Regions from separate parts of the Homo sapiens genome. Here region 1 is linked to region 2. Evidence: promoter capture Hi-C in 16 types of primary human blood cells and fetal thymus (Javierre and others, 2016). All regions are on one chromosome and are shown on one strand. The core of a region is centred on a gene start or on the middle of the fragment in contact, and the rest is flanking DNA. Distances in the headings are between cores, read along the strand shown.

Region 1 (3,135 bases), core at 263-2,762, 500 kb after region 2:
CAATGCAGTCTCTAGCCCAGCCTCTGCGCACCTCACTGATGGGAAGCCCACCTTCCCCAGTCTGTGCTGACCACGTCAGTCCCTCCAAGCAGAGACTCTGCCTTGGAAAGCCAGCCCAAAGCCACGGTCTGCTGAAGACGCTGGTGGTCCTGAAGCAAATTCCAGGCCCTGCTCCCCCACCGGCGCCTTCGGCTCCAATCCTCCAGCGCCCCAGGCCGCCCCGCGCCTGGCAGCTCCCAGGCCCAGATTCAGCCCCCGCCCGGCCCCTCTCCGCGGGTCCGGCCCGTGCGCGCCCGTCTGCGGCACCGTCGGGCCGGCGGCCGCCCCGGAGCAGGAAGCCCAGGAGGACGGCCGGGGGGCCCGGGTCAGAGGCGCCAGGTAGGATGGAGAAAGGACACCCAGGGCCTCGGCGGGCTGGGGGCGGGGAGGGCTGCGGGGCAGCAGGGACGGGGGCGCACCTGGGTGACCGGGCTTTGCAGGAGGCCGGCGCCGGGCAGCGCGTAGAGCCAGCCGCGTGTGCAGGGCCGGGTGCCGTTGCGTGCGGGCGCGGGGCGCGGGCCCGGGGCGGGTGCAGGGCGCGGGATCGGGGTAGCGCAGGAGCAGGCAGGGGCTCGCGGCTCGCGTGGGCCCCAGGCGCGGGATGGCGGCGTCCAGCAGCGCGGGTCCGCGCAGGGCGCGCAGCGCTGGGGGCAACAGCGTGGGGTCCGGTCGGCAGTGGGGCGCGGGCTGCGCGGTAAGCAGCTCCTCGGAGCTCAGCACCAGCCCCAGCACTATGCAGGGTACCCACGAGGCGGAGGCCAGCAGGCGCCGGGCCCGGCCAAAGCCGCCCGCAGCTCTCAGCACCCGCGCCTCCTGCTCCATCGGTCGCAGGCTGCGCTCGGGACGGGGCGGGGCCTGGACCAGGGCGGGCTCCTGGGGCGGGGCTTTGGGGCGAGGCATTAAGGGGCGGAGCCTGAGTCCAGTGGAGGCGGGGTGTGGGGGCGGGCGGTGTGAGGGCGGGGCCTAAGGCGTAAAGGGGCGGGGCCCGATCTGGGGCATAGGGCGGGGAGGTTGAGGGGCGGGAAGGTTGAGAGGCGGGGCTTGCGGCCGAACCGCGAGGGGGCGGGGCCCCGTGAGGGCGGCACGTGGGGGCCGGGGGCGTGGCAGGGGCGTGGCCGGGAGCGCTCAGGTGCCCTCGCGGCGCAGGTGCACTCAGGTTGCCCGGGGGCGCGCGGGCTCCGGCCGGCGTCCCGGGGTGGTCCCCGCGTGGGGCCGGGGGCGTCCGCGCGGGCGGGGCGAGGTCGGGGAGGGCAGCCGCCCGCCCTCCTCGGCGCTGGGAGCTTTCGGCTGGTACTGCGGGAGGAGCTCCCGGGTGACCCGCGGGTTCTGAAACCGCCGCTCGGGAGCTCGGGGCCTGCGCTGCGTCTACGGGGCGAGCGAGGGAGAACTGACGCCTTTCGCCCGGATCCTTCTCCCCTTCCGAGAACCAGGTAGGTCGCGTTTATTTTCAAGTCCGACTGTTTTCGCGGTAACATTTGTGGGAAACATCACGGTGGATCCTGTGGGTCGCTGAGTTTTCTGACTCCCGGTTTGTCTTATTTTGCTTTGTCAGTGGGCTCTGCGCTCGCGTTAACAATTCGAATGGGCACGTTTCTGCGTTTCAGAACGCTGTTCGCTTCCTCACACTTAGATTGAGGTGGAACTCACGTCACATAAACCGGGTCGCAAGGCTCAGCTCAGCGGGGCCCCCCCAACAGTGTTGCGGGACCAGCACCTTCTCGGGCTCCGGAACAGCTTCTACCCGAGCAGAGCCCGCCCGTCGGCGGCCGCTCTCCGCGCCCCTCCAGGGCCCTGCAGCCCCCGCCCTGCTCCGCGGACCAGCCTGTTCTGACCTCCGTTCAATGGAGCCCTACGTGCTGTGGCCTTTTGTGTTCCGGCGTCTTTCGCTTAGAATCGCGTCTTCAAGGTTCGTCCCCGGTGGAGCGGGGATCAGACCCGCGTTCCTTTTCAGGAGTGAATAATATTCCGTGGATGGAGCCCACACGTTTCTCTCTTCCTCTGTTGATGGACAGTGGGTTGTTTCCACTTTTTGCCTTTTGCGTCCAGTGACACGATGAACATTTTCGTACAAGTATTTGGGTGCCTGTTTCCATTTATCTTTGGTGTATACCTAGGCATGAATAGCTGGGCCTTAGGGTGTGAACTGTTTGTGAAACCGCAGAACGGTTTTCCGCAGCGGCGGTTCGATTTCACCACCAGCAATACAGAAGGGTGCTCGTTCCCCGACATCCTTGCCAACACCCATGTTCCGGTTTGTTTCAGTTATTTTATTGTGATAAAGCACAACAAAATGTATCATCTTAACCATTTTAAGTGTGCAGTTCAGTGGTATCAAATACATTCACACTATGGTGCAGCCGTCACCCCCATCCAGCTCCTTAACTCTGTTCACCTTGTAAAACAGAAACTCGATGCCCGTTACATAGTAACTCCCCATAGCCCCTCCTCCTCGCCCCAGGGAACTAGCATTCTGTATTCTGTGTGTGATTTTGACTAAGCTAAGTATCTCTTAGAAGTGGAATCACACGGCATTTTTCTTTTTGTGAACGGTTTATTTCATTTGGCATAATGTCCTCAAGATTCATTCATATCTTTCCATATGTTAGAATTTCCTTCTTTTTAAAGGCAGAATAATACTCCATTGTATGGATATGTCACATTTGGTTTACCCATTCATCTGTTTCTGTAAACTAGGTTGCTTCCACCTTTTGGCAATTGTGAATAATGCTGTTATGAACATGAAATATAAATATCTCCTTGACACCCTGCTTTGAATTATTTTCAATGTATATACCTAGAAATGGAATTGCTGAATCAGAGGGTAGTTCTATTTTTAACTTTTTCAGGAATCACCATACTGTTTCTACAGTGACTGCACCATTGTACATTTCCAGCAGCAAGGTACCGATTTCTCCCATCCTCACCTACATTGTTATTTTCTGGGTTTTTTTGATGGTAGTCATCCTAATAATGGGTATGGGATGGTATTTCATTGTAGTTTTCATTTGCTTTTTCCTAATGATTAGTGATATTGAACATGTTTTCATGTGCTTATTGGTCATTTGTATATCTTCTTTGGAGAAATATCTGTCCAAG
Region 2 (3,266 bases), core at 389-2,888:
ACCGGAGGTCAGGAGTTCGAGACCAGCCTGGCCAACATGGTGAAACCCCTTGTCTACTAAAAATACAGCAATTAGCCGGGCGTGGTGGCGGGTGCCTGTAATCCCAGCTACTCTGGAGGCTGAGGCAGGAGGATCACTTGAACCCAGGAGATGGAGGTTGCGGTGAGCCGAGATGGCGCCACTGCACTCCAGGCTGGGTGACAAGAGCAAGACTCTGTCTCAAAAAAAAATATTCCCGTTCAGAGGCTGCCCCCCCAAAATGTCACGGCTAAGTGAGATGGAGGAGCAGGGGCAGAGCCTGTAGCAGCCTCACAAGAGAAGTAGGTAGAGCTGTCCCAGCGTGGGCAGGCGCCTGTGCTGCCTGACACAGGTAATGAAGGCAGCTCTGCATCCTGACACTGGCCCTGCCACCTCCGTGGGTGACCAGCACACATCCACCTAGCAGTCCCAGCTCCCTCTGTACCAGGAGCCCCTGAAGTCAGCTGACTTTGCTTGCAAAATGTTCTAGAGCCTCCTACCAGTCTGGGTGCACCCCCCTCCACTCCACCACCTCAGCAGCTTGGATGTCTGCGGGGAAGCCCTCCTGCTCTCTCTCTCCCCTGCCACTGCTGATTTTGCTCAAGAGCTGTATTATTCAGCACTTAGGAGGGAGCAGACACTGATCTAGGCTTCCTCCCAACGGGGCTGGCAGCTCCAGAATACTTGAGCACAGCTCCCCGCCAGGAGAGCCACGTCCTCCAGTTTCTGTTCCTGAAACACCCTGGAGGAGCCGGCTGTGAGCCCTGGTGCAGCTGGAAACCCCAGCAAGGTGGTCAGTGTCTGCTCCTCTGTGGACCAGCCTGCCTGGCTACTCAGTGATCGGTGTGACTCAAGTTCTCCTTCAAACAAAACTAAGAACATCAGACTCCAAACAAGCCCCTCTAAACTTTAGGGAACTCCTTTCCTCTGTAGTCAAAACAGGCAGACAGCGGGTCCGAACAAGAGTTGATAGCAAAAACTACAAGTTATTTATTTACAACTGCCCATTCCAGCCGCACAAGCCCAAATCCACCACCACTGGCGGAGCGGTGGCACCTGCTGCCCTCTGAGTACCGGAGCGCCCGCCGCAGCCGCCGGGGACCCCGAGCTTGGGCAGGGCCGCAGGTCGCCCGGTGAACCGAAGCAGCAGTCGGACCGGGCGCCTGCGGCTGGCGCGAAGGAGGCTGGGCGGGGGATGAACGCGCCCAGAGGGCAGAGGCGGCGCGGCACAGGGAAACCCGGACCCCACGCGCCCCGAGGCCCCGGCGCCCCGAGTCCCCGCGCGCCCAGTCCGGAGCTGCACCGGGGCGGCCGCCGGCCTCGCGACCCCTCCCGCGGCGGGGCACGGCCCCCTCCCCGCGGCCCCTGGGCGGGCGCGCTCACGTGTGGCCGCAGCTGCCGATGGCCACGGGCCGGTGATAGACCTCCAGGCAGATGGGGCAGGTGTACTGCGCCTCCAGGCCGCTGTCGCCGCCCGCCGGCCCGGCCGGCGGCTGCCGCTGCTGAGCCGAGGCCACCAGGCTGCGGAACATAGCCATCCCGGGGCCAGGCCCGCGCCGCCCGCCGCCCGCTGTCCTGGCCCGGGCCGGCCCGCTAGTCACAGCCGCTACTGCGCCGCGCTGACGTCATCGTAGGGCGCCGCCCCCAGCCGGGCTTCGCGGCCGTCACGGCGCCACTCCGACGTCATCGGGGCGCGCCCTCGCGCTGTCGCCGCCACAGTCTGCGACGGGACCCGGCGTGCCCATGTGTCAGGTGGGCGAGGACTACGGGGAGCCGGCGCCTGAGGAGCCGCCCCCGGCGCCGCGGCCCAGGTAAGAGCTGGCGGCCGGACCCGCCAGGCCGCCCCTCGCCTTCCCGCCGCACTCCTGCCCCGAAGGGTCCCGGCCGGGCTTGCTCCGGGAAGCCCCGCGTGGAGAGCGGGACCTCGCTCCCTAGCACTCGGGGAATGCCTGTCAAGCGGTGACGGCCACCTAGAAGGGGACTTACTCCACTGGCTCGCGCCTCTCATCCTAGCAGCCACTGGGGACGGCTCTGCCGCTGACAGTGCTGTCCTTATTCGGAGAGAACTGGTGCCGTGAAGCTGTCTCGCCTCCCCGTGTCAGCCTTGGGAGACTGAAAAGCGGCCTTTATGTGCCCCCTGAGCCGGCTTTTCTAGGCTAAACATCCCCCCAGAGCCTTTGTTTTTCTTGAAGTTTGGACAGAACACAAGCCTGGGTTTGTGTGTGTACCGAGGTGCCTTTCTCTGACCCAACTCAGGGTGAGAAACAGGAGCTGTCTCCCCAAAGCCCACTAGGCGTGGGGAAGATGTGATCTGTGTTTCTCTCTTCTCCCCCCTCCCATCTCCAAAGCCGTGAGCAGAAGTGTGTGAAGTGCAAGGAAGCGCAGCCCGTTGTGGTGATACGAGCCGGAGATGCCTTCTGCAGGTGAGGCCTGGAGGTGGCTGAGACCCTGGCAAACATGGCCTCGCTAGCAGACAGGATAGCCGCAACTTGTGATGCTTTGTTAATTCTTTTTAAAAACATGTACTTACTTTATTCCTGCTCCTGATGGGGTCCCTCGTGCCCCTGGTGTTGAAGTGGAGGCGAAAGCATTGGTTTCCTGCTTGGGAAAGTTTCCCATGAGCTAGCCACAGATCCCCTGATGAGGTTTCTGATGGAACTTATGGGGACAGTTGGAAGTGGGGCCGTGGTGTCTAGACTGGGATAAGCTGTAGGAGGACCAGGCGTTTGGGGGCAGCTGGAATACATCTAGGGGCGGATCAGAGCATCTTGGGAACTTGGCAGATGGTCTGGGTGAAAGTTTTTAATCTCGTGTGAGATGCTTGTTTCATCTGTGGCAGGATAGAGGCTTGGAAGACCTCTAGCTTTCCCCCAGGCGCTTGTCATGTCTTTCTTGGCTTGTAGCCATTGTATTGTTCAGTTGTTTCCACTAGACTCATAGCTCCCTGAAGGGAGGACCAGGTCTCTCTCCTTTTAGCCCTCTTAATTCCCAGTGGTGGTGCGTGGTTTTTTTGTTGTTGTTGTTGTTTTTTTTGAGATGGAGTCTCCCTCTGTCACCCAGGCTGGAGTGCAACAGCTGGAGTGCATGATCCCAGCTCACTGCAACCTTTACCTCCTGGGTTCAAGTGATTCTCCTGCCTCAGCCTCCTGAGTAGCTGGGATTACAGGTGCCTGCCATCATGCCCGGCCAATTGTTTTTGTATTTTTAGTAGAGACAGGGTTTCACCATGTTGGCCAGGCTGGTTTCGA

Evidence for each region. Contacts are between HindIII fragments. The CHiCAGO score rates a contact against its expected background, and 5 or more counts as called.
Region 1: a contact is called between a fragment that was not itself captured here and the fragment with the promoter of RNF166 in region 2, in 1 of 17 cell types (non-activated CD4 T cells). The highest score is 5.4, in non-activated CD4 T cells.

What each region holds. Positions count from the first base shown.
Region 1 is chr16:89,200,804-89,203,938 of GRCh38, forward strand. It overlaps a transcript of SLC22A31 not described here. Among named protein-coding and RNA genes, the nearest start is that of SLC22A31, 1.8 kb to the left of the region's middle. RefSeq lists an enhancer at 1-508 and a silencer at 801-890. The HindIII fragment of the contact is 3,791 bases long and covers 1-3,135 here.
Region 2 is chr16:88,704,770-88,708,035 of GRCh38, forward strand. It overlaps RNF166 (ring finger protein 166), which reads right to left and starts at 1,639. Exons shown (of 6, transcript NM_178841.4): 1 at 1,402-1,639. The coding sequence starts at 1,556. It overlaps CTU2 (cytosolic thiouridylase subunit 2), which reads left to right and starts at 1,734. Exons shown (of 15, transcript NM_001012759.3): 1 at 1,734-1,829; 2 at 2,367-2,441. The coding sequence starts at 1,762. RefSeq lists an enhancer at 1,114-1,751 and silencers at 1,373-1,652, 1,693-2,002. The HindIII fragment of the contact is 28,082 bases long and covers 1-3,266 here.